Linked DNA regions of Homo sapiens: region 2 is linked to region 1. The links are contacts of gene promoters, found by promoter capture Hi-C in blood cells and fetal thymus (Javierre and others, 2016). All regions are on one chromosome and are shown on one strand. The core of a region is centred on a gene start or on the middle of the fragment in contact, and the rest is flanking DNA. Distances in the headings are between cores, read along the strand shown. Region 1 has its middle 30 kb from the start of MAP3K14. Region 2 holds the start of SPATA32 (spermatogenesis associated 32).

What was found. Contacts are between HindIII fragments. The CHiCAGO score rates a contact against its expected background, and 5 or more counts as called.
Region 2: a contact is called between the fragment with the promoter of SPATA32 here and a fragment that was not itself captured in region 1, in 10 of 17 cell types (neutrophils, activated CD4 T cells, monocytes and 7 more). The highest score is 9.5, in neutrophils.

Annotation. Positions count from the first base shown.
Region 1 is chr17:45,345,063-45,349,210 of GRCh38, forward strand. No RefSeq gene overlaps it. Among named protein-coding and RNA genes, the nearest start is that of MAP3K14, 30 kb to the left of the region's middle. The HindIII fragment of the contact is 3,357 bases long and covers 542-3,898 here.
Region 2 is chr17:45,259,832-45,263,979 of GRCh38, forward strand. It overlaps SPATA32 (spermatogenesis associated 32), which reads right to left and starts at 2,263. Exons shown (of 5, transcript NM_152343.3): 1 at 2,173-2,263. The coding sequence starts at 2,185. It overlaps MAP3K14 (mitogen-activated protein kinase kinase kinase 14), which reads right to left. Exons shown (of 16, transcript NM_003954.5): 16 at 3,288-4,148. All of the region lies in intron 2 of MAP3K14-AS1 (MAP3K14 antisense RNA 1), which reads left to right. RefSeq lists silencers at 1,907-2,026, 2,097-2,146 and enhancers at 2,095-2,700, 2,177-2,266, 2,701-3,304. The HindIII fragment of the contact is 9,151 bases long and covers 1-4,148 here.

The DNA.
Region 1 (4,148 bases), core at 970-3,469:
CTGACTCTCATTCCTACACATGTTCCATTGGGCAGCTGTAAGAGTCTTTCCTTTTTTTTTCTATTTTTTTTTAATAGAGATGGGGTCTCGCTATGTTGACAAGGCTGGTCTTGAACTCCTGGCCTCAAGTGATCCTCCCATCTTGGCCCCTCAAAGTGCTGGGATTATAGGTGTGAGCCACTGCGCCCAGTCTTGTCAGATTCTTTCCTGCCCTCCTAGGAGGGTGGGGAGCAGAGTGGAGGTGCTGGATCCTGGGGGTCGGTAGGGAAAGAGAGAGGATCTGGCAACAACACCCAGATCCTAACCCCAGCTTTGCCACTGTGTGAATATGGACCAATCACCCCCTCTCTCACCCTAGGTCTCAGGTCCTGCTCTGTGAAATGACATTTGTTTGAGGGCCAGCATCCTAGAGCTAGGGACACAGTCTCTAAGAACCTGCCTTCCAGCAACCCTCAAGGCCACACATCCGGGTAGCTTCCCTGGGGTCTAGCTTGCCCTGCCTTCTGAAGTTTATTTGTTTAACACAATCAAGTTATTACAAAGCTTAATTCCCAGAAGATATCACTGTACTTTTGAGCTTATGAAGCAACTCAAAGTAAATTTATGAGGTGTTGACAAGTAGAGGCCGTGGGGAACCAGCTTTTTGTTGCATAGAGAGTAATCTTCTATAGTCAGCTGGAGGCTTATCTTCAGTTAGATGTCGTCTAAGAGAAAACATTTCCTCTTTTGAGCAGATCAGCGTGGAGCCTCTGTAATAACTCTTTTGCACACTTAGTTAAAGGGAACCCTGTTCTGATTCCTGTGGTTAGCAATTAATTGATGAGGCTTTTATAGTTCTTGGAATAAAGAAGAAATGGAAATTCCAAAGAAGAGACAGACCTATAAAGCCCTTTTAATGAGATACATGAGTGGGTAGTGGTGGAGTAAGGGAGTGTCCTGGAACCAGCCTGAAGGGTGGGCCCAGGAAGCTGTTCCTACTCTTGGCTTTCAGAGTTTTGTGTTTTTTTCTTTTCTTTTTTTTTCCCCAAAGTCATGGCTGAAGGCCTTCCAGCTGTGGAGCTTAATCAGACCCCAGTGATTGCATAAATCACAAACATCTAGCACTAGCCCAATCAGGCCCAAACCCAACTCTTTTGAATGTTAGAACTTGCACATTTGAGGTCAAGTTCTGTTGGACACAGAGAGGAAGGGTATTCGGAAAAGGACAGACTTTTTCCAGAAACTCTTTGGCACCCAGCCTCCCTCCCCCCGAGTCAGATTTGGGAGCACATCCAAAGCAAGGCACCCACACAAAGACCAGGGACGCTTTCCAGATGAGATCCAGCCCCTTGTCTGCCCACAGGCATTGACTGAGTCTCCTTGTGCTCAGTGGGTTAGATACTTGAGCAGGAGCTGGGAGGTAAGTCAACTTGGCATCATCTCTGTCTCTAAGGGAGTTGAATAATCCTGTGTTCCATGTATTGTGCCTGGGATGGGAGTCAAGAGGTGAGAGAGGGCTGCCCCTCCTTTGGAGCAGTTTCTACAGGAGAGACAGGCCAGATGCCTGGCCTGACTGCCCTGCTGCCCCACCGAGATAGACCCCGGCTCTCGGTTCCACTCACGGTGAGTATTAAGCACCCCCTACGCTACACCATTGTATCCCTTCCTTACTCCACTGGCTGCCAATGCGCTGTCTTGTTGACCCAGCCTCCAAATAATAATTTTTCTTGATTATGGAGTTTTGGCACCTCCTGAAATTTTGCTCTCGAGGCAAGCGCCTAAATCAGCTAATCCTAATGGAGGCCCCGGCAAACATCTGACTGATGGTGACACATACAAAAGCAGCTTCAAGCCACAGTGCGTTAGTGCTTAGAAAAAAAGCCCCATGAGATTCCAAAGAGACATTTGCATAATTCTGGGTCAGTGCTTCCCAAAGTATATGCTGTGAAACATCAATCCTATGAGGTGCTTATCCAAAAGATAAGAGATTTTTGTGGACAAATAATTTTGGGAAATAATGCATACTCTAACTTCTGCCTTAGATATTCATTATGGACACGAACACGCTAAAAGCTCAGACTCCTGGGTGAAGAAACATCACTTTTCTAGCCCATCCTCTTTGGCTGCTTAGCTGGGTCAGCTTGGGCAACTCTATCAATGTTTCTTAAAGGGAAATGAGAGGGTGCTCATCTGAGAATCTCTTAAGGGTGCTTGTTAGAGAGTACTGGCCGGTCATGGTGGCTCACGCCTATAATCCCAGCACTTTGGGAGGCTGAGGTGGGTGGATCATCTGAGGTCAGGAGTTTGAGACCAGCCCAGCCAACACAGCAAAACCCCATCTCTATTAAAAATACAAAAATTAGCTGGGCATGGTGATACTCAGGAGGCTGAGGCAGGAGAATCGCTTGAACCTGGGAGGCGGAGATTGCGGTGAGCCAAGATTGTGCCATTGCACTCTAGCCTGGACGACAGAGTGAGGCTCCGTCTCAAAAAAAAAAAAAAAAAAAAAAAGGAAATAGAGAGTACCCAGCCCTGCTGCAGACTTTGCAAATCAGAGTCTCCGGAGCTCAGGAACCAGGAATTTGCTTTGAACAGTGCCCAGTTGATGGTGATGTATGTTCCACTTGAGAATACCAGATAAACTTTGCAGGGCCTTGGCTTTTCCTGAGTGTTGTAAATATCAAGATATAAGTTTGACCAACAGTTTAGTCAAAAAGAAACTTAGGCACTTCCCAACTCATTCTTTGAGGCCTGATACCAAAACCAGGCAAAGATAACACAAAAAAGAGAAAATTACAGACCAATACATATTATGAATATAGATGCATTCTCTGGTACAGAATGAGGCTTTGTCAAATTAAAAATAAGAAAAATTTATACTGGAAGTCCTAGGCAGAGAGATCAGGCAAGAGAAACAAAGGGCGTCCAAATTGGAAAAGAGAAAGTCAAACTATCCCTGTTTTCTGGTGATATGATCGTATACCTAGAAAACCCTAAAGACTCATCGAAAAGGCTCTTAGATCTGATAAATGAATTCAGTAAAGTCTCAGGTTACAGAATCAATGTGCACAAATTAGTAGCACTGCTATACACTAACAACGACCAAGCTGAGAATCAAATCAAGAAATCAATCCCTTTTTCAACAGCTGCAATAAATAAATAAATAAATAAAATACAATACCTAGGAACAGACTTAACCAAGGAGGTGAAAGATCTCTACAAGGAAAACTACAGAACATTGCTGAAAGAAATCACAGATGACACAAACAAATGGAAACACATCTTATGCTCATGGATGGGAAGAATCAGTATTGTGAAAATGTCCATACTACCCAAAGCAATCTACAGATTCAATGTAATTCCCATCAAAACATCATCATCATTTTTCACAGAACTAGAAAAAACAATCCTAAAATTCATATGGAACCAAAAAAGAGCCCAAATAGCTAAAGCAATGCTAAGCAAAAACAATCTGGAAGCATCACATTACTGGACTTCAAATTATACTACAAGGTTATAGTTACCAAAACAGCATAGTACTGGTATAAAAATAGGCACTTAGACCAATGGAACAGATAGAGAACCCAGGCATAAAACTAAATACAGCCAACTGATCTTCAACAAAGCATACAAAAACATAAACTGGGGAAAGGACACCCTATTCAATAAATAGTGCTGGGAAAACTGGCAAGCCACATGTAGAATAATGAAACTGGATCCTCATCTCTCACCTTATAGAAAAATCAACTCAAGATGGATCAAAGACTTAAATCTGAGACCTAAAACTATAAAAATTTTAGAAGATAACATTGGAAAAACTCTGCTAGACGTTGGCCTAGGCAAAGAATTCGTGACTAAGACTCCAAAAGCAAATGCAACAAAAACAAAAATAAATAAATGGAACCTAATTAAACTAAAAAGCTTCTACACAGCAAAGGAAATAATCAGCAGAGTGAACAGACAACCCACAGAATGGGGGAAATATTTGCAAACTGTGCATCCAACAAAGGACTAATATCCAGAATCAACAAGGAACTCAAATCAGCAAGAAAAAAAATAAAATAATTCCATCAAAAATTGGGCAATGGACATGAATCGACATTTCTCAAAAGAAGATATACAAACGGCCAACGAACATGTGAAAAAATGCTCAACATCAGTGGGAAATG
Region 2 (4,148 bases), core at 1,013-3,512, 85 kb before region 1:
TAAAATGTTAAATCAGCCTTGCGTTACTGGGATAAACCTCATTTGGTTGTGATATATTACCCTTTTTCTATGTTGTTGAATCTGATTGGCTTTTTTTCAGAATTTTCACATGCATATTCATGAGGGATATCGGTGTATAATTTTCTTTTCTTGTAATGTCTTTGTTAGGTTTTGATAGGGAGGATGGCTTCGGCCCGGGAGGCAGACGTTGCAGTGAGCCGAGATGGTGCCATTGCACTCCAGCCTGGGTGACAGAGCAAGACTCTGTCTCAAAAAAAAAAAAAAAAGGAGATGAGGTCTCAGTATGTTGCCCAGGCTGGTCTCAAACTCCTGAGCTCAAGCGATCTTCCCATCTTGGCCTCCCAGAGTGTTGGGATTACAGGCGTGAGCCACCATGCCTGGCCTAATTTCTTACCTCAAATTCATATCTTGTATGTCCAGACTCTTAAGTGTGGCTGCCACGGTTCTGCCTGTCTGACCCCTGTCTCCCTTTCTAGTCTGTCATCTCTCCATACCCCACTCTCCTCGCCCTATTCATCCTTCATCCTTTCACCCAAATGAGAAACCTGGGTCATTTGTGACTCCTCCTCCCTCCGCAGCTACTGCCCTCCTACCCCTGATGCTGTCCTCATCTCCCAGTACCAGAGCCAGCACACACCCATGACTTCCTACCCTTTGGCACTTGGTGCTGAGTGCTTTGCACATTCAGTCTTCATACCTACCCTATGCCCAGTTGGCCACGGCTCTCCTCTCACAGATGAGGAAACGTGTATGAGGTCATGCAGCTATTAAGAGCAGCACACGACCCAAAGGCAGGTCTGGCTGGCTCCAAACTCTGGGATGCTACTCACTGCACTGTCTTAAATCTCTTTAGTCTTCCAGTGGGACCACTGCAACTATGTCCCCCTCCAACCTGGATTTTCAATGACCTCAGAGTGAGCCTGCTACATCTCACTTGTCTCCGGTTACCCCCAGACTCCATGTGGCCTCTTGGTCTGATCTCTACCTTCATTTTTCATCTCTTGGCATCCAGCTTCCTGTCCCTCACCCTAAGCCGAAGCTACCCCCAGAGTACCGCAGGCCTTTCTGCACCCAGTGCCTTTGCAAATGCTATTTCTTATACCTGGAAAGCCTTCTTCTGGCAAAGTCCTACTCATGCCTGAAAGCCCAATTCAAATAATCAGTGTAATCCTCTCCATGACAGACCTGGCTGTCTAATCTACGTTTTACCTTACAGGCGTGAGCCACTGCACCCGACCTCTGGTTTTTTTTTTTTTTTTTTTGACAGGGTCTTGCTCTGTGGCCCAGGCTGGAGTGGCAGCATCATAGCTCACTGCAACTCCTGGGCTCCAGTGAGCCTCCCAGCTCAGCCTCCCAAGTAGCTGGGACTACAGGCTCATGCCGCCACACCTGTCTAATTTTAAACATTTCCTGTAGAGGACAAAGTCTCGCTATGTTGCCTAGGCTGATCTTGAACTCCTGGCCTCATGTGATCCTCCCACCTCTGCCTCCCGAAGTGTTGGGATTGCAGGCGTTGAGCCATCATGCCCACCTAATTTTTGACCGTTTTTAATGCTGGCCCATGCCCTTCTGGGAGAGAGGATCCCCAAAAGAAAGCCACCATTTCAGTGGGGGATCTGACGCCCCTATGGGAAGGGGAGACACAGGGCACTGGGGGCAAACATCTTTGCTCATTGGTTCAGAGAAGAGTACAAGGCATCAACGAAGCGCTCCGTAAAAATGTGCTGAAGACTGCCGCTCCTCCCTGCAAAGCCTCAAGCATCAAGGAGGGACAACTGGATGTGATTTTTTGGATCTGCAGTTCAGGATAATTCATGAGTCGTTTCCTGTGCACAAGGCCATTGCTCCTTCTGTGGTCTCAGAACCCCTTCAAGAACCACTGACTCTGCAGTCCCTACTCCAAGGCGCGCATGCGTGTCCGTGAGAGCACATGGGTGTGCACCGCGCAGGGGCTGAGGCTGGGAGCCGTAGTCAGGGGCACCGGGTGGGCTTTGGCGGCGGGTCGACCTGCCTTTCAGGTGCCGGGGGTTTGGGAGCAGGGGAACGGGCCCTGGGCGGATTCCTGACCGCCCCCTTCGCGCCCCTCCCCCTCTCACTTTCGCTTTCCCCGCCTGCCCCAACCCTCGCCCCCGGGCGCTCGGCCGCTCCCACCTGTCACCCCCATGCAGACCGAGGCTCTGTCCTGGAGGCGGGGAGCGGGCTGGTGGATGCTGCCTCTCCGCCTCCAGTGTGCTCTTTGGCTGAGGGACTGGTGGGCGCTGGAAATATTAGAGGCGCCGGTGCCTGTGATGTCGCCGCCTCTGTGACGTCCCCGCCGCGACCCCACAGGCAGGGAGCCGCATTTAGGTTTCGGGCGGGCGGACGGGGGACGGCCCGAGTGAGGCGTCCTCCGAAGGCTGCGGGCCCGAAGCCAGAACTCCTTCCTCTCCGAAGACCTCGGGGGTGGGGCTCGCGCTTCCGCAGCGGGCCTAGAGCGAGAGGCAGGCGGCAGGTAAGCCTGGCTGTGCTGGACAGGACTTGCACCCGCTCTGCACGCCAGCGGCTCAGGGCTGCCGCCCTTTTCGTGGTCCCAGGGCCCTTCCAAGAACCGGCTAAACCAACCCAAGCCGCGCGCACACACACTTGTGCACACAGGGAGTGTGGAGCCAGATTCGATAAGGCACCCCGTGTGCCCCAGCTCCATGACCAAGGAACTCAGCACCCCGTGTGCCCCAGCTCCATGACCAAGGAACTCAGCACCCCGTGTGCCCCAGCTCCATGACCAAGGAACTCAGCCCACAAAGGCATCCCTGGCCCCATGCAGGGCTCAGGAGGCAGCGGAAAGGGTTAAGAGTCCAGGCCTCAAGGACAGGAGGGGAGGGTGGAGGGCCTGTGGTGTGCATCCGGCATCCCTGGATGGTCAGGGCCCAGAACCCATCCCTATTTCCCTTCTGGTGGTAGGGGGCTGCCTAACTTGGGCAGTGGCACAAAGCATGCAGGCTTTGTTGTCCTCCTCCTCCACCCCTCAGCCTGGCATATTTTGGCGAGGGACTTCCCTGATGCCACCGGGCAAGGTATCTTGCCTAACTGGTCTGAATGACTAGCCCAGCGTTGGGACTAGAAGCAGCCACTGGGAGGAGTGGTGGGAAAGCAGCCCCACTCAAGGGCTGAAACAGTCCTTGTCCAAAACAAGGGGGACTTGAAAAGATCTCAGCAAGAAGGCAAAGAGAGGCAGCTGTTAGGGTCGTGAGGTTCAGCAGGCCGGCAGGCAAGAGAGAGGACACCGATGGCCTGGAAACATTTGTCATCACCCCAAACTTTATTGCTTACAAAGAGTTCTCTACAACCCAGACTCTGCAGTACCAAGGCTGCAGTTCTTTATGTGCTGGGGGCCGGGGCTCTCTCCCCGGGAGCAGTCTGACTCAATGTGGACAGCTGGACAAAGGCTGTCTTGGCAAGATGTGGGAATGAGCTTCTCCCACGGAGTCTCGGCGTCCCCTGCCCCAGGAGGTTGAGGCTAGCAGACACCCCCTGACGATTCACAGCTGATTTAATGCTACGTGAGTCCTGAGTAGCTCCCCTGGGAGAAGAGGCTAAGCTGGGGCAATGGGGAAGGGGGTGCTATTCTTAGAGAAATCTGGAAGAGGTTTGAGGAGTCACATGCATGTGGACAGCTCAAGACTGTGTCCCTTCACCCCATCTCCTGGCTTGCTATGCTCCTACAGTGTCACTGCCCTGCCCTGCCCTGCCAGAGGGCAGCCATGAAAGTGCTTTGAGGTCATCAGAGTGCAAAGTGCCGTCGGCAGTACCCTCTGGCCAGGGGCAGGGCAGGGTGAGTGTCAGTGTGATGCTGAGCTGTGCTCTGGGGAACCAGCACGCTGGACACTGATAGTGGGGCTGGGGCGCCGGAGCGTCTCTCTCTGCTGCTTTCCTTAGCACTGATCATGTCCATCCACAGACTGTTCCTGTCAGGCATATCCTGCATCACCCTTCACCTTTACAGATGAGGGAACTGAGTGCCAGCGAGTCTGGGGCAGTGCTGGGCCTGAAGGGGCTCGGGGCCTGCTGCTCTGGGGAAGAGTGGTAGCCAGCAGCAAAGGGGCACATGTCTGGGGACTGAGAACCACTTCACTTACACACCTTCTTTG